Regions from separate parts of the Homo sapiens genome. Here regions 1, 3 and 4 are each linked to region 2. The links are contacts of gene promoters, found by promoter capture Hi-C in human tissues and cell types (Jung and others, 2019). All regions are on one chromosome and are shown on one strand. Each heading gives the region's core, a stretch centred on a gene start or on the middle of the fragment in contact. The rest is flanking DNA. Distances are from core to core; before and after follow the strand shown.

Region 1 (4,508 bases), core at 950-3,449, 330 kb after region 2:
ACTTATTTGTCAATTAATCTAATGTAGCATCTCCACTTACTCATCTTTCCTAATACATAATCTGGTTTTATTATGTGCATAACACTCATCACTGTCTACAATTACGTTTTCTATTTATTTGTGAACTTGCTTGTCCATCTCTGCCCACTACAATTTACCTAAGCAGCTTGATAGCAAGGGCCTTGTTTGTGTTGTTATCCTAGGGTCTGGCCCATTGTAGACACTCAACAAATAGTTCTGGAAGGAAGGAAATAATGAATGTAAATCATTACCTTTTCTTAAGCGATATGTTTTTCTCTTTAACTCATTTTTTCTGGAAATAAAATTGTACTAGGAAAAGAATTATTTCTCTTGTTGCTGGCAATAATTTGCCAACTTAAAACTCCCAAGATTAAATTTGATATATTTTCTTAATGGAACCTTACAACAGTGACCTACTTTCAGTTTGAAACAACACAGGAGAATATGTGAGTTCGCCATTTCCTTGAATGGCAAAATGCCACAAATATTTGTTGTGGTTATTATCTGGCTTTGAATAATCAAGTCACCAGAGAACAGGGCTGTTTTACAAAAACAGGTAAAATTTCTCTCAAGTGACACAGAATCATATAATAAGCTATTATCTAATGCTTGGAACATCACCCCAATTCTAGGAGAAGAAATAGCATAATTACTTTGTGTAGAGGAAAATACCATAATGTCCATTCTAAATATTAATAGTATAGCTGACTTTCATTAAAGAAACACAGTTTTGGCTGGGTGCGGTGACTCATGCCTATTATCCCAGCACTTTGGGAGGCCGAGGGGGGCAGATCACTTGTGTGTGTTCAAGACCAGCCGGGCCAATGTGGCAAAACCCATCTCTACTAAGAATACAAAACTTAGCTGGGCATGGTGGAGTACACCTGTAATCCCAGCTACTTGGGAAGCTGAGGCACGAGAATCGCTTGAACCCAGGAGGCAGAGGTTGCAGTGAGCCGAGATTGCGCCACTGCACTCCAGCTTGGGCAATAGAGAGAGACCCTGTCTCCAAAAAACAAAAAACAAAAAACAAACAAAAAACAAAAAACAAAAAAAATGTTTTTTTGTTTAATAAATTCATGCTTCTTAATAAATATATGCTCTGGGGGAAATGAGGAAAAGAATGATGAATGTCTGAGGTCCAGAATAAGTAGAATGAGAAGACGCCATATCAAGTCTAAGCTTTAGCTCCTAAAGAAGGGAAGAATTTAAAAGATAAATCCCATCAAGGCCTTTAAAATGTTACAGTACTGCCTTTCCCCTTTTTCTCATAAAACCTTTTCTAATCTGCTTAAGTAACTTCTAATTAGCTTCAGATGTAACAGAAAAAAGGCAGCTACTACTCACATTCTTCTTAAAAGGTAATATATTGCTGATTTCAGATAGGAACATCTGAAGTGATGCAGGAGACTTGCACAGACAAATACATGCAATCAGATGGTCACTGCTTGACAGTCTTATTTTTCAATTGGTTGAGTAAAAATAACATAGTTATTGAATCAACCTGTAAAAGTTGAACATCCATTTCTTTTGTTGCCTAAAATAATATGCCAAAGATTTTTCAGAGTAATGAGACCTACTAAATTACATGGTTGTTAATAAAATACAAAATCATAATCTTTCTTTACTGAGAGAAATTAGGACTTTTTTTACTGTTAATAGAAATATTTTCAAAATGTTATGTATTTCATTTCATTTATTTATTTATTGTTATTTCAATAGTTTTGGGGGAACAGGTGGTGTTTGGTTACATGGATAAGTTCTTTAGGTGTGATTTCTGAGGTTTTGGTGCAGCCATCACTTGAGCAGTGTACACTGCACCCAATGTGTAGTCTTTTATCCCTTAACCCCCTCCCAGCCTTCCTACTAAGTCCCCAGAGTCCATTGTGTCATTCTTAGTCTTTGCGTCCTCATATCTTAGCTCCCACTTATAAGTGAAAAGATAATGATGTTTGGCTTTCCATTCCTGAGTTACTTCCGTTAGAATAATGGTAACATCCATATTTTTGATATTACAGGTTGAGTACCCTTATCTGAGATGCTTGGACCAGAAGTATTTTGGATTTTGGAATACTTGCATATACATAATGAGGTACCTTAGGAATGGGACCCAAGACTACAACATACAATTCATTTGTTTCATAAGCACCTTTTACACAGCTTTTATAGAATATTTGTAACAATTCTGTGCGTGAACCAAATTTGTGATCATTGAACCATCAGAAAGTAAAGGTGTCACTATTCTGGTCACAATTCTGTGCGTGAACCAAACTTGTGATCATTGAACCATCAGAAAGTAAAGGTGTCACTATTCTGGTCACCCATGTGGACAATCTGTGGTTGTTTGGCATCACCATCATGCTTGCTCAGAAAAAAATATATCAAAGCTGAAGTGGGCTGGGAGGGTGTTTTGTTTTGTTTTGTTAGTTTTTTTTCTCTTGGGGACGCTGAATAAACTGTGTTATGCTCCTGTGTTTTGACTACCACCCATCACATGAGGTCAGGTGTGAAATTTTCCACTTCTGGGGCCATATCTGCACTCAAAAGTTTTGGATTTTGGGGCATTTCAAATTTGGGATTTCAGATTTGGGATGTTCAATCTGTATAAGAAATGCAGTAATAAAAATACATGTATATACTTATACACATCTTTTTTGCAAAAAAAATAGTAACAGGTGGGATTATTGAGTGAGAATATATGACCATTAAAAACATTTTAACTTTCAAAAAAACCTTCCAAATGGATATTTAAAAAGCTCTTGATATATACTGCAAAACGGATTCCCAAGGATGTCATGCCAATTTATATTCCCCACCTGTAGTGGATGAAATGTTTACTTTCAACTTTAATTAGTGGCAGGCCCAGATGGCTCATAAACTGGAGGGATTTTTTAAAATGCCTAATACATGAGCAATTTAAGAAAATAAAGTATATTCTCTACAGAAGGATTCCCGCTCCTTGCTTCCTTTGCTTAGGCATCATTTAGGGCCTCTTGGGTGTAGAAACCTTAGCTCCAATTGCTGATCTCAATTCTGTGAAATCTCTGAAGCTTAAAATCCTACTTATCATGATAGTTTCATATTGTTTCTGATGCAGGGTGATATTCCTTTCTTGTTTTTTATCTAAACACACACACACACACACACACACACACACACACACACAGACACACACACACACACACAATTTAAAATGTCATTTCTATGTGTAAGAGCAGAATGGGAAGGTTTTAGCATGAGATCCCTCTTCTATCTTGATCCTGAAGTCCACTATGAATCTTGAGAGCTGTATTTCCTGGCTTTATTTGTGGACCTTTTCACAATCATATATTTATATGTATATGTATGCATTTGTTTATAAGAGCTAGAATAGCCTGAATGAGATGTGTGTGTATATATACACATTATATATGTTATACATTTTTATTCATAAAAGCTTGAATTTAGAGAGCTCTCTACTCAGAACTGGTTTTTGACCTTTTAAAGAATGTGTAGACCCTTTGATTGCCCTAAAATTTGACCAAATTGTTGTTGGAATTACCCTCTCAAACCTCTGGGTGAAATGTACCTTTGCATTGTGAGTTTAAGGATGACTCAGCAGTCTGAGTGGGGTGAAAAGTGACTTAGAACAAGAGGTGGCTGCGCAGAGTGATGTGGCTTTTGGTGCTGAAGCTGTCGTGCCAACTCCTCTTACATTTAAAGCTTCCTGTATGCCCCAGTGTCTGTCAGATCTAAAGTGTGTCTCCACTTTCTAAAGGATCAAGCCCCAGTTGTCCTTCTGCTTGACAAATAATCTGTGTGAACCTGAGGATTTCAACAAATGCCACTGACTCACTAAGATAAAAAAGAGTGAAAAGAGATCGTCTGCCCCCTACCCCCAGCCTGTCTTTGACTTTATTCATTACTCCTTCAAATCAGAACATATTAAGAGTGTCCTCCTGCCAGGGTTCCTGCCAGTCAGTTATTCCCACAATCGTTACTGTTGTTTAGCAGTGGGAGTAACAGGTTGGCCCTTCCTGCTTTCCATCCATGTGGTCCTATCTCTCCTATATTAAAAAGATTTTAGGATTCACCTGTAACAGCTAGTGCTTTTGAAGATTTTTGCCCTATTTTGTATTCTAGTTATCATTTCCATGAGGCCTGAAGGAAGGTAGTTAAAGGCCTGTGCTTATGCTGTCAATTTAACAAGAAGTCAATATATTCTCTTTTTATTAAAGACCTCATATGGGTTACCTGGCCAGATTTTTTCTTATTATGCATTTCTAAAGATAGAACTGCCTCTTTATGCTTTTGTTACATAATCATTTTGTCAATCTATATGTCAGTTAAACAGAAATTGCAGTTCTGAACATGTAGTTCAAAACTATTTTATTTCAAATAGAAACTACACAAAGGCATTATAATGATATAGAACATGTAAATATAAGGAGATCAATAGAAGCATCTCCAGGGGTTCCAATACTGATTAAAAATGCCTATTCTGTTTT
Region 2 (4,718 bases), core at 706-3,205:
ACTTTTTTTTTTCCAGAGAAGTTTTAGGATCACTCAAAAATTGAGAGTAAAGTACAGGGATTTCCCACACATACATAGCCTCTCCTGTTATCAAAATCCCCCAACAGTGTGGTACATCTGTTACAATTGAGCTTCCTTGTTTTATTTTTTAACCCTTCTTATGTTATTACACATGGCTATTTTTCATCTATCTTTATTAGCTATCTCCTTTGTTACCTTCCCCTCCCGCACTGATGTTTTAGCCCAGTGGCCCAACATAGCTGATAAGAAGCAGACTTTCATTCCAGGTTCATTTTCCCGATTTAGTGTTGAGGGTGCGGGTAGATGAAGTTTTGTTTTGTTTGTTTTGTTTTAGAGAAGTGTATTGCTTTAAAACAGGGAGAGATAGTCTGACGTACTGAAAGGAGGTGGGTCTTTAAAGTTAGCGAAAGGTAGGTAGGAGCCTTACTTTTGCCTTTGGCAAGTTTATTGACCACTATAAGCCTCAGCCTTATCTGTAAAATAAGTTGGATAATGCCCATCTGGAGGAGCTCTTGGGAAGATTGAAGCATGGAAAGCACCTCTCTGGAAGGTTCAAGGAAAGGGAACTAGAATTATGGGTGACAGAATTCCCTGGCTTTCCAATGCTTTACTGTAGGTCGAATGAGCACTCCTAGCAGGCTGGCCTCATGCCACTTCAGAGTCTCTAGCCTGCAGGCTGGGGGCTGGGTATGGACACGATACCTGGAAGGGAACACATATAACTTCCATCAGTGATCCTGGAAAGGCTCGACAAATCACCCATTCATTCATTCTGTGTGTATGTGTGTGTGTGTGAGAGAGAGAGAGAGAGACAGAGTCTCACTCTGTCACCCAGGCTGGAATGCAGTGGTGCAATCTCGGCTCACTGCAACCTCTATCTCCCAAGTTCAAGTGATTCTCCCATCTCAGCCCCCCGAGTAGCTGGGATTACAGGAGCCCGCCACCACTCCCGGCTAATTTTTGTATTTTTAGTAGAGACAAGGTTTCACCAAGTTGGCCAGGCTGGTCTCGAACTCCTGACCTCAGGTGATCCGCCCACCTTGGCTTCCCAAAGTGCTGGGATTACAGGCATGAACCACAGCACCTGGCCCATTCATTCATTTTTATTTGAACTTCTCTTCCAGGAAGCCCTCTGAGTTTAGGTTTAGCGACAGGACCCTGATTCAAGTCAACTCGTTTATTTGAAAGCTGCCTGGATAAAAATAAAATAAAATAAAAAATAAACTGGAGGATAACATAAAAGGATCCTTGCAGAGGATTCCTCCTTTTGTGGATCTCACTGAATCTCAGAGTTAGAAGACGCTCAGAGATCTCAACTCCCTCAAGGGTCAGACAAGGACAGGTTTTTCATTCTGCCCTGGATCCTCTCACAATAGCCTCGCGGGAGCTGGCCCTCAAAATGATGAAGGAATAAATGAAAGGAGGGATGGAGAAATTAATGATGAAGAAAAAATGAATGAGGTAGGGCTGCTTGTTTGCTGCTATTTTCTTCACAATGCTTTTAAGATTTCCTGGTCCATCTCCTCCTTCACCACTTCTCTCCCTCCCTCGATCTCTTCTCCAACTTGTCTCTTACAGAAGGGCGCCGCGTTCCCGCGCTCCTCCCCTTCCCCTCGCCCCGCCCCTCCCCAGCGAGGCCCCGCCTCGCTGCCCGAGCCCGGCGGGAATGAATGGCAGCGTAGCCGCCGCGCCGCTCGGGGTGCCGATTGGCTGACCGGCGCGCTGACGCGCCGGCGACCGCGGGTGCACGCAGGCGAACAGAGCCGGCGGGGGCGGAGCCGGGCTCCGGGGCGGGGCGCAGGAGCCCCGGGGCGGAGGAGCCGGGGAGGCGGGAGGCGGGAGGCGGGAGGTGTTGGGGCCGTTGAAGCGGCCTCCCTCCCGCCCCCAGCCGCCCGGTCTGGCCCCAGCCCTGTCCCGACCCCCGGCCTGGCCCACTCCGACCCTACCCGGCCGAAGGGTTCCGCTGGACACGCAGGCGGCCTCCGGAGCAGCCCAAGCCCATGAGGGCCGCGCGCCCGGCCGCCGGTGCTGACGAGACGGAGCTCCTGGCCCCCGAGGAGGAGCAGAGGATCAATGCGGTTCAAGAATCGATTCCAGCGGTGAGAGGGATGGCGTCCCGGTCCCGCTGCCCGTGTCAGAAGCGGGTTCCCAAATCCCGCCGTTAAGCGCACGGCTCCCGGCTCCTCACCTGGATTCATCCTGGGTGGATCCCGCACCTTGGCCAGGGATCAGTTCCCTGGGGATTCCCCACCCTGCTGTCCCTGGGCGATCCCCTTCCTCCAAGGATGGGAGCTCCTGCCTCACCCGGGTCTCCCCTCGCGATCTGCGGACCTCAGATGGATTCCCGGCCCCGGGACTCCAAGCCTGTCCTCCTTCCCGGGGATCCCTTTGCTCCTGGGGCTCACCCTCCCGACCCCCATACAGGCTGGGCTCTGGCTCTCTCTGGGAACCCGAACCCCAGCCCCGGGCACCGCCCCCGAGTCCTCCGACCTGGCTTTGGCCTCCATCCCTTTACCTCCAGGGTGGGGGTCTCCCGGGGCGCGCGGAACGGGGTGGCGCCCTGCGGAGAGATTTGTCGTAAAGCGGGGTGCTAGGCATTTTGGGTGCTTTGTGAACGGCCCTAGCAACAGGGAAACTGAGGCACGCTCCGCCAGCTTAGCCCTGCCTGGCCGTGTAGGGGCCTTGCTGGTTCTCCAGCTGAACGTCCCAGGGCGGTGCTATTTTTGGGCTCTGCGAAGGGGCATGTTAGCTTTCGGGTGGCGAGACCTGCTGTGGAGGCGCCGGTGTTAGGAAACGAGGAGGAGGAACCGTGGAGGCGCCACCGGAAGGCTGGCCGACTGCTCATTCACTGTAGAGCTGGTGGAAATGCCGGGCTGGGGGGCGCCGTGGCCTTACTCCCCTCTGGGGCTCCACCGTCTAACAATGGATGGAGGTTAGCCCATGACTCTGAGAGGAACTCCGGGCTTTTCTTTTCTGTTTAAGTGGGTGAAAGTTCACCTCTCCAGGGCATATGGTAACTGCATCCCTTTGTGTGAATTCCCGGACCTTCACCACCAGCATGTTTGCTGGGGGTGCAGTGACAGGGGAAATTTTAAGAAATGCATGAAATCTTCCAAGAAGGTTGTTGAGTTTTTAGACACTACCTTTTATTTCAGAATTTTAAAGTACACATTTTTTTTTTCTTTCCAATCTCCATGCCCTCACTGCCCTCTCACCCATCTCATTCCTCCCCCAGTCCCAAAGGGTAAAGGAGGCAACAAATGCACAGAAGAGTTGCCATGGTCTGGGCCACCAGGAAGGGGATCAGCTTGAAGACTTGGATTGACTTCTGAATATATTGCTTATCAGTCAGGGTGTTGAATGCTTGGCACTGTTCCCCCAGTGGAACTTCATACCGGTGTGTCTAAGGGCAAAATGGAACCGTAGTGTTCTGACTTTAGAACCTGATGTCAGAAATGAAGACCGGAGGGGCTTTTAGAGAGAATGTAACATGCACTCCAGTCATGATCAGTGAAGCCCTGTGCATGCGGTTTGATTTGGTTTTACTTCTCTACACGTCTGTGCTCTTCCTGTTTTCAGAGAACAGTGGCAATATTCTGTGAAATTGCCCCTTCCTTGTTTGATTAAGAGTTTGTCATTCTTACCTATACCTTTGGATCCTCTAAAAAGAAAAAAAACAAACAAACCCTGTTCAATTATTTGTTGCACAAACGTTAAAACTGTTAAAACAACAACAACAACAACTTCATTTAGGATGCTACCCTCTCAGCTTATTGAACTGACTTTTTAATTATTTTTGCTGGACACTGATCTCTCCATTCCTTATTAGCACAGTTGTAATGTGATTTTTGCGCTATTATTCACTTAAAAACTAAAAATACAGGTATTTTCTTTTGGTGTGGCATAGACTGTAATTTTCTTGGGGGCTTGTGTGTTTCTCAATGGATATTTAACAGTTTCTTTCTTGATGACATCTAGATCTACCCTGATTTTCTTTGAAGATTTGTGTGATCTCATAATTTCTTGGTTTTCTATCATAAGCTAGGTTGGAAACATAGTTCTAAGCATCAATTTTAACTTGGAAATAAAGCCTATAAACAAAAAGTAATGTAATGAGAATGTCCTGATTTTTGTGGTTCACACATTAAAATGCTGAGAGTAGTACTATTCTGCATCTTTTAATGCTGTGTTCATGATATATCTTTCTGAGCATTCCCAGGTAGGTAAATTGCAAAGGAACTGGAGGGAGAGACACACTGTCTTTGAAGGGAGACATGCTTCCTCCCTCCTGATAGATTTATTGGGACTGGATGGAGGAGCATGAGGAGGGTTTATGCAATGATGGCTTCTTAACAAACTTAGGATGTGAAAAATTTCACTGGAACACAGAGGCATATTTTATCTTCCTCATTTTATGTTTCACACTTGAGTATCCCCAAGATACCTACACACACATAGACAAACACAAAGTCATCCTCTCCCCTTCATAGCATCTCTGATTGATGGCAATAACTGCTAATATTTATTGAGTGCCATTTATCTATGCCAGGCACTGGCTGGGCACTTGTATATTACTCATCCTCAACTATAACTCTGGAAGACATAAATGTTATACCCATTTAATAGAAGAGTAAATAGGTTTAGAGAATGAAAGGGAACTTGCCCATAGTCACACAGCTAGGAAGGGGTAGACCCAA
Region 3 (4,651 bases), core at 676-3,175, 280 kb after region 2:
GGGACACTGAGAGAAGCAAGAGATGACAGCTGTGTCTCTACTGTGTCTTATACAGCGTAATATCCCCTGTAGAACTCACTGTATTGTGTATAATGATGGATGTTCATAAGGATTTTGTTCACTGGCCTCTGTATAAGAAGTCAGGGAAGTGTGTAACATATATTAAAGTAAGACTTTCATCAAGAACAGTTAACTAAAATAAGTCTTGGTGCTTGAATAGGGTTAAGTTCCAACAAAAAAAAACTAACTTATGCCAAACACCCCATTCCTTCATGAGGCTGGGTAAAAGAAGTAATGGCATATTGTTAGATTTTCCTATTTCTACTCTTTGACTTTTTTAATCTCTGGAAGACAACTTCTTATTCTTACAACCAAGTTTCTATTCTGCTGTTTTAAAATGGATAAAGTATAGAGCTCTTCCTAAATTAAGATCTGTTTGAAGTGTCTTTCTTGTCACATGTCAACATACTATATTAACATGAGGATACAGAGGTGGTGAGGCGTGTGTGTGTGTGTGTGTGTGTGTGTGTGTGTGTGTGTGTGTGTGCAGGTGGCTTTGGGGCCAGACAACCCTGGATCTGAATCTTGGCTCTGCAATTTTATTACTGTGTGACCTTGATGACTACAGCCTCTTTTAACAGTTTCTCCTAATGAAATGGTAAGACAATAAGATCTACTATGGCCCTTTGGGGAATACATTTATTTTATCATCTCTTTTTCTGTTTTCCTTATGTGTCAAGACTAAGGTCAAGGAAACAAAAAATTGATGGACTTCCAAAACACACCCTTTGGGGGTATATTTTCCGAGCAAAGCAATGGGGTTAGGATAAATGTAGCATCTCTCTGTTCTTTCCACAGACACTGAGTTGGTTCCCAGGGCAGCCAAAGGGCTTATTGACTCCCTTTTATCTCCTCTTCTGGGACTCTATTCTCCCTTATAGTGGGAGACCAGCCCAAGGCTATTGTTCCAGGCTGCAAAGAACAGTGGCTTAAGCTAGCTGGGTAACAGGTAAGGAGACAAACCAACTCTCTGGCTGACCATCACTTGTTCCTGCTTTCTCTGTTTTGGGTAACTGTGCCCCTAGTATTTTTTTCTCTTAAGGCACTAGTTAGATTCTGACATTCAACTCTGGGTTAGGATATACTGACAGACAGCTAGGTTTAGGTAAAGGAGTTCCCCACAGGATCCAGACTCATTTACTGACATTTCAAAGGATCCTGAATGCAGAACCCCAGTTAATAATGAATGCTAATTTTCTTTCTTTTAATCATGCATTTCTTTGGGGAACCTTCTAGGAGAAAGCATGGCTAAGGGCAAGATGCAGCTCACTACCATCATAATGCCATTCCAATAAGAGCCCAGCAACACCTACTTTCCACATTGTTAAGAGCATTAAATGATATAATGCATAGAGAAATACACCTAGCATATTCCTGGCTATTAAGCACAAGCTAGTGCTCAGTAAATGCTCATGCCCTCATCTTTTCCTTTATAAAGTTAATATCAAAAAGAGAGAAAGAAAGAAATGCAACACAGATTTGAATGCATTTTTTCATTTTCCTGCCATTCCTACAGTACAGTGATTCAAATCTTCCAGAAACTAAACATGATTAATCCTGCATGCTAGAGAGCCCCTTCCAGAAGAGGTCTGATTCTGGAAGTAAAGAGTGTGGCACTAAATGTAATCTGCACATGGAATTCCTGGGTCCTCTATGCCAAAAGTTCATTTTCTTTCAAATGTTATAAACAACACCTTTGCCTGATTAATCACTTCATGCTAGAGATTGCAAGAAAAAAATTCAGCATGAAAACACTTTGCCAGGTTTATCTCTAGTTTTTCCTTAAATTTTTTCAAATACAAAGCTTTTGAATTCTCAATGTTTTTAATGGTCATATGATTGTTCAGGTTTTTTTTCCCCTCCACGATGGTTTCTCCATATTGTAAATTCATGATGGCTATTTATTGGGCATCTACTGTGTTCCAAGTTCTATGCTAGGTACTTAAGATTAAACAACTTTATAAAGTAGGTAATATTCCCCTCAGTATATGATGTGAAAGCTGAGGTTAACAGAGATGTAGGAACTGTGTAAAGTTGCGGGGCATGAGAATCCAAAATCTGGATATTGCTTTGTAAAATATTTGCACATTTGAAAGGGGATAGCAAGGACATGTCTCCCTTTTCCTCCCAAAATGCATACCAAGTATACTTTGCTAAAAGGATACACAAAGGAGTCCCCTGGGCTCTTAGGAGTCTGTTGGGATTCCCCTTTGTGCTCTCGAAATGTCAATTCTGACATAAAAGGAATTTTCAGGAAACGGTAGAAGTATATCACAGTGCTCTGTCCAGGGCAAAACTAACCAGTTCAGCATCTAGGAAATGTATTCCTGTTCAGGCTTTAAGGATGGGTCTTTATCAGTGACAGTCTAGTGCAGATAGTAGAATCTTGCGGTCAGAAGACTTTGACTCTAGTTCTGACTTGGTAATTAAGTAGTGATAGATTTTTTGGTAACTACTCAAGACTCTTATTTTCTTCATCTATAAAACAGAAAAAATGACAAGGTATACATACCTCAAGAGGTTGTTCTGAGAATCCACTGAGGTAAGGTTTGTTCATATACTGTCCTATTTATCTCAAGTTATTTATCTACTGTCTGTTTTTCCTCTCTATTATGTAAATTCTATGCTATCAAGAAACCAGTCTATATATTTCACCACTATATCTGCAGGGCGTGGAACACTGCCTGGCAAACAGCAAATGCTCAAAAAATAGTTGCAGAATGAACTGTGTGCATTTTAAAGCATTAAAAAATGTTGATATTAGCATTATTGTTAAGAACTTTCAAAGATATACAAAACGGATTTTTTTGCTAGGTATTAACTTTTCATAAACACTAATACTATTAGCCAGCAAGTGAATTTAGGCAGCCAGCCTAAGTTCAAATGATGATCCTGTTCCAATTTTTTGATGTTTCCCTAGAAATTATTACCAGGTTTTTTCCCCCAAATGATATCTGATATTAGCATTTAAATCACATGAAACGAAAATGGTGAGGCTTCATTTCTTGTTACTAATTTTTGTAACCTCCAAGAAGGTTTCTTAGTTTTGCTGATTATTCTGCAACTTCCAGGTTCTCTCCAGATGTGAAGAAAATTGCTTACTTGGTTGAGATGCTTGTACTTACTTGATGAAGTACTTGATTCCATCTGCTGTGTAAGCTTCCTCCCACCCATAAGGTAAACCTACAGTGAAAGGAAACCAAAAATATATTTAATAAGATGATAAAGATAACTTTATTTCCTGGACACAAACCTCCCTCATCTTTACAATTATTTGAGCACATTTCTTATACAAAATAATTTTCTAGAAAGGGGGAATTAAGACAATTCAGATGAGCTTTCATACTCAGCATCTTTAGAACACAATAAATAAGTCTTGAGCAGTTAACAATCTGCTTTAGTTGCAATAACTGGATTATGACTTGTCATTTACATGTGGTGAGCATTTTTGTCAGCAGGATTCAAGCAAAAATTTGTGTTGCAGTGGATGGTTTTTGCCTGAAGGCAGAAGGATGGACAAGATGGCCTCTGCTTGTCTATTCTGGCTCAAAGTTTCTTTAATTGGCTCCCTTTACATTCTTTCACTCAGCTCCACAGGGAATCAGACATGAGTGCCAGATCAGCAGGGGTTTGAAAGTAGCTTTTGGACAAGACAAAATTCCTTATTAAGTTTGAAAGTTTAGCAAAGTGATTTACAATGGATTGTGGCATTTTACTTTGTTAATTAAGAATTTTGTGCACTAAACATAAACGGCCAAACAATTTGCTAAACTTAGCTTCCATTTCTGTAATGGGATTGAGAATAGTTAGCTATAAAGAGATGTGGATTGACGTAAGCAAGCAATATTTGGCCATATTTCTGTAAATGAGTACATTTTGGCCCTCATCATACCAAGAGAACAGCCCCAAGTTGAGGCAGCCACATTCTCCTACATTCTGATTTTGGGTGTTACGTTTCTAGAACACAGTGGTTTCCACCCCTCTGTTCCATCCAAGTACTGCTAAGGATTTTAATCCAATTTTTGGATGAGTTCTTTGACACTGGCTTATCACGACTCAGGTAGCCTACCTCTCTGGAAAGTAACCGACCTTTAACAACAAATCATTGACTTCCTTTCCCCAAGTCTCAGCAAGGGGCAGAGCAAAAGTGCAGGAATGGTAACTATTTTTGTTTGCTTGCTTTTAGAGGCAGGGTTTCTCTCTGTTGCCCAGGCAAGAGTGCAGTAGCACAATTATAGCTTATTGCAACTCTGAACTCCTGCGCTCAAGTGATTCTCCCTCCTCAGCCTCCCAAGTAGCTGGAACTATAGGTACGTGCCACCATTCCTGACTAATCTTTTTTAAATTTTTTTGTAGAGACCAGATCTCACTATGTTGCCCAAGCTAGACTCAAACTCCTGGGCTCAAGTGACCCTCCCACTTTGGCCTCCCAAAGTGATAGAATTATTGTTGTGAGCCACCGTGCTTGGCCTAACAGTAACTATTTGAATGAAATAAAACCTTACTCTATCGCCATTTGCTTCTTGTGAAGTCTTTGAGAAGCAACTCTAAGGATGATGTTTTTGTAATTATGAAAACCAAGAAATACAAT
Region 4 (4,487 bases), core at 196-2,695, 480 kb after region 2:
AATGCATGTTAAAGATTCTTGCTGCTGAATCAGAGTTTCTGGGGACCAGCAATTTGACTTTTTGACAGTCACCCAAGTGATTTTTATGCATACTGAATTATTAGATCCAAGTAGGTTACAGATTAAAACAGGCAGCTATTAGCTGAAATTTGACTTTTAATGAATTTTATAGACACTTGTTGTAATGGGATTTTATCTGTATTATTCTTTCTCTCATTACCCAACAAGATTAGCAAGATAACACAAACAGAATCAGCTATTTTAAACCACACTATTTACCAAGCGACTTCAATCTGCCTACATTTCAACATTTACTTGCATTGCATGTAGCCAAAACAAGAGGTAGCCAACAGAAGATACTGACCTAACTCAGTGGTTCATGAAAGAGCCATTGACACTTAATCATTTCCCAACACATGAATCCTTTCTTCTCTTCTTCCCTTATATTTTGCTCTTTTTTCTTCCCAGTTTGATTCTTCTTTCTCATTTTCCTCCCTCTGCCCCTCCCCCTTTTAAATATAGAAAAGTAATTCAGTGATTGGGTACATAAGTATTTAAACAAAACACTAGGAAACTTTTTAAAAAATCTAAATCCACTGATACAAACACACTGCCAAAGTATGTTAAGTGAAAAACAAAAGGTTCAGAACACAGTGATAGTATGCTGCATTTTATTGAATAACGGAGAAAGAAATTCATATTCCTATTTGCCTAAAGACACTATGGAAGGATAAATCAGAACCTAACAAATAATTATCTGGGTGGGAGTAGAGCGTGACACTAGGGAAAAGGAGAGAGGGAGGATGAAGAGGGAATGAAAACAAGAATTGTCTTATACAACTTTTTATACTGTTTTGATATCTGAATAATGAAAATGTGTTGCCTATTATCTAAAATATATACACTTAAAAGGAAAAAAGCTATTGACATTGGCATAAGGCAAATTCAACTGCTATTTATTCTATCCTGCCTCTTCTGGAACTTACGTAACCACTCTTTCACTCTTTTTCAGTTTTTTCCTTCCTGTATCATTCTTGTTTCTTTATGTGAATAGAGGCAAATATTAATATATATTCTTATTTCCAACTTTCTTACACAAATGCAATATATTACACACACACTACTTAGCACCTTTTTTTCCTACTTAGCAATAAATATATTGGTGATTATTACTTTTATCCCCCAGCTAGACAGTAATATGTTGTACAGATGTTTATTTAACCAGTCCCCAACTGAGGGATATTTTGAGTTGTTTCCAATTACTTGCTATTGCCCAAAATGTTGTAAAGAATAATTTTGTAAACACCTAACTGTGTGTAAGTGTGGTATAAATTTCTACAGATAAGATTGCAGATTCAAAGAAATAAATGCATTTATAATTTTAATAGATATTGCCACCTGCCCCTATAAGAGTTACATAATTTTGTCATAGTAACTGTCTTTCCATAGCCAACAAAGTATGTTATGAAATATTGGGACTTTTGCCAACCTGAGAAGTAGAAAACAATTTCTTATTAGACTTTAATTGACATTTCTCTATAAGTAAAGTTGAACATCATTGCATATGTTTATAGGTCATTAATATTTCTTTTTAATATTGGACTATCAGAAAACCTGATGGCTGGGTGCAGTAGCTCACATCTTGTAATCCTAGCACTTTGGGAGGCCGAGGCACATGGATCGCTTGAGCCCAGGTGTTTGAGACCAGCCTGGGCAACACGGCAAAACCTCACCTCTACTAAAAACACAAAAATTAGTTGGGCATTGGGGCATATGCCTATAATTCCAGCTACTCAGGAGGTTCCAGCTACTCCATCAGGTTTTATTAGTCCAATTTTAATATTGGACTATCAGTCCATCAGACTTGCTACTTACTGGCTATACAAACTTGGGCAAGTTCTAGTTCCTTCAATAGAGAAATGACCAAGAAATCTCAGTCTCTTTTCCTGTATGATGGGAATAATGATAACAGGCTGGTGCAGTGGCTCACTTTAGGAGGCCAAGGCGGGAGGATCACCTGAGGCCTGGAGTTCAAGACCAGCTTGGGCAACAAAGCGAGACCCCATCTCTACAAAAAATTTTAAAAATTAGATTAGCCCAGTATGGTGGCGCACACCTGTAGTCCCAGCTATTAAGAGGTTGAGGTGGGAGTATCCCTTGGGCCCAGGAGTTTGAGGCTGCAGTGAGTTATAATGGTGCTACTGTACTCCAGCCTGAGTGACAGAGCAAGACCCTGACCTAACATCGCTGACCTAAGTACTTTAGTGAAGATTAGATGAAATAAACAAAAATAGCTTAACTGAGTGCCTGCCACACAGCAAGTACCCTGTAACTGATGGGGCCATTACTCTTAATTTTGAACCTCATTGCTCTTCTGCCTCCTTTGTCATTGTATTTCCCCTGTTCTTCCCCATCTCCTGTTACTACTAAAAATAAACAGAGACAATTTATTGAAGGCTTACTATGTACCAAGTGCTATATCGCCTGCACTGCACTGCACTGCAACCTCTACCTCCCAGGTTCAAGTGATTCTCATGCCTCAGCCTCCCAAGTAGTTGGAATTATAGGCATATGCCACAATGCCCAACTAATTTTTGTATTTTTACTAGAGATGAGGTTTTGCCATGTTGCCCAGGCTGGTCTCAAACTCCTGGGCTCAAGTGATCCATGTGCCTTGGCCTCCCAAAGTGCTAGGATTACAGATGTAAGTCACTGCGCCCAGCCATCAGGTTTTCTTAATTGTAAGGAATCTAAATGTCATGATATTAGTTCTGCAGTGTTACTGACATACTTACGGGGGTATCTCTGTATTCTCCAAGGCTAGCAAGTTCATCTGTGGATGAAGACTGGGTTTTAAGTTGTTTGTTACATCAGAACTTGGAAGGCTGAAATCTAAAACACAAAATGGACTTGTTTGGCTTTAAAACATTTTGTCAGTCAGTTATGCTGGATTTTCTACAGTAAAAACAAAAAAAAAGAAAAAAGAAAAAGAAAAAAAAAAGAAAAACCCACCAAATAAAAGAGATTAATTTAGATATTTCTGTCACCCTAAAATCATGAGATTTCCTAGCTCTAAGAGAAATTAAAAAGCATCATTTATGGTAGGTAGAGAGAGAAAGAATTTCCCTGCCATGAGAAGAAGTTGTTGTAAGGGTAACAAATATTATTGTATTGGATTTTCTAAAATCCCAAGCTGATCCAGAATGCAAAGGATTTTACATCTTGTTCTGCCTAGCACAAAAGTAAAAAATTACAGTACATACTGAGCTCTACCTTCACCTCAAGCTCCAGTCCATAATCTTTTTTTTTTTTTTTTTTTTTTGAGATGGAGTCTCACTTTGTCACCCAGACTGGAGTGCAGTGGCACGATCTCGGCTCACCACAACCTCCACCTCCTGAGTTCAAGTGATTCTTCTGCCTCAGCCTCCTGAGTAGCTGGGATTATAGGCGCCCACCACCACTCCCGGCTAATTTTTGTATTTTTAGTAGAGACAGGGCTTTGCCATGTTGGCCAGGCTGGTCTCGAACTCCTGACCTCAGGTGATCCACCTGACTCGGCCTCCCAAAGTGCTGGGATTATAGGTGTGAGCCACTATGCCTGGCCTCCAGGCCATAATCTTAAGTGAGATACCCCAAAGGGAATAATTCCCTCCCCCTCTGAAAATTCTCAATTAAAAACTCAGGAAAACTCTCCAATGTAACTGACTCTACACATCCCACTGGCCTACATAAACAAGTAGCCAACATTTTAGAACTGAGTAGAGTTCTAAGAAAACCACAAATTCAGTGATACTGAATATTTTTACTCCGGAAACAGCAGATGACATATGAGAAAAACAAACTGCTTTTAATTTGACAAAACTGGATTTCAGCATTTTTCATCATCCTTATTTTGTAATTTGCCAAACCCTTGCTGGGAATAAGGACAGCAGAAGATAACAGGTAAGATAGGTAACTCTTTTATAAATGTTTATAAAATGCATTGTAAGCTTTGCTACAATGCATTTTATAAACATTAGTTTGTTAACCTTGACAACCACCCTTTAAGGCAATCATTGTTCCCATTTTATAAAGTGAGACTCTCAAAAGTTAGGTGGCTGAGAGGTGGCAGAACTGGCATTTCAACTTGGACTTCTCTGACTTTAAAGCCTGTGTTTTTCCTTCTACATTTCACAACCACTCAGTTCATACCTTGTAATCCCTGAATTTCTCCGCTTGCATCAGAGATACTCCCTTACCTGATGCTGAGGTATAGCAGAAAAACCCAATGATAATAGTGTGTAGGTTCACAGTAGACTTTAAGTATTGGCCATTGGGCTGAACAACTTCTACAAAGCAGGCCAGGTGAATTCCATGAGATTCTAAGTGAGTAGGATGAGTTTCAAGGACCTCCTCGCCCAGACACATCCCATTGCTATACTGGGTTTGACTCAACCATTTGCCGGGAAGTAATCACATCTCCTAACATAGCGCTCTGACATTCAACC

The links. Contacts are between HindIII fragments. The study calls those that stand out against the background at their distance.
Region 1: a contact is called between a fragment that was not itself captured here and the fragment with the promoter of MMD in region 2, in 2 of the 25 tissues and cell types used here (H1 embryonic stem cells and bladder).
Region 3: a fragment that was not itself captured here is called in contact with the fragment with the promoter of MMD in region 2 in 1 of the 25 tissues and cell types used here (thymus).
Region 4: a contact is called between a fragment that was not itself captured here and the fragment with the promoter of MMD in region 2, in 1 of the 25 tissues and cell types used here (dorsolateral prefrontal cortex).

Annotation. Positions count from the first base shown.
Region 1 is chr17:55,089,535-55,094,042 of GRCh38, reverse strand. The region is part of intron 16 of STXBP4 (syntaxin binding protein 4); the gene reads right to left. LOC107985002 (a long non-coding RNA gene) reads right to left here. Exons shown (of 2, transcript XR_001752943.2): 1 at 1,369-4,508; 2 at 1-237. Among named protein-coding and RNA genes, the nearest start is that of STXBP4, 120 kb to the right of the region's middle. RefSeq lists an enhancer at 3,800-3,899. The HindIII fragment of the contact is 5,652 bases long and covers 1-4,508 here.
Region 2 is chr17:55,419,072-55,423,789 of GRCh38, reverse strand. MMD (monocyte to macrophage differentiation associated) reads left to right here and starts at 1,955. Exons shown (of 7, transcript NM_012329.3): 1 at 1,955-2,120. The coding sequence starts at 2,095. RefSeq lists a silencer at 1,555-2,014. The HindIII fragment of the contact is 18,270 bases long and covers 1-4,718 here.
Region 3 is chr17:55,139,902-55,144,552 of GRCh38, reverse strand. STXBP4 (syntaxin binding protein 4) reads right to left here. Exons shown (of 18, transcript NM_178509.6): 17 at 3,186-3,243. Among named protein-coding and RNA genes, the nearest start is that of HLF, 120 kb to the left of the region's middle. The HindIII fragment of the contact is 5,724 bases long and covers 1-4,651 here.
Region 4 is chr17:54,937,329-54,941,815 of GRCh38, reverse strand. It overlaps TOM1L1 (target of myb1 like 1 membrane trafficking protein), which reads right to left. Exons shown (of 16, transcript NM_005486.3): 11 at 2,796-2,892. Among named protein-coding and RNA genes, the nearest start is that of COX11, 29 kb to the left of the region's middle. The HindIII fragment of the contact is 6,558 bases long and covers 1-4,487 here.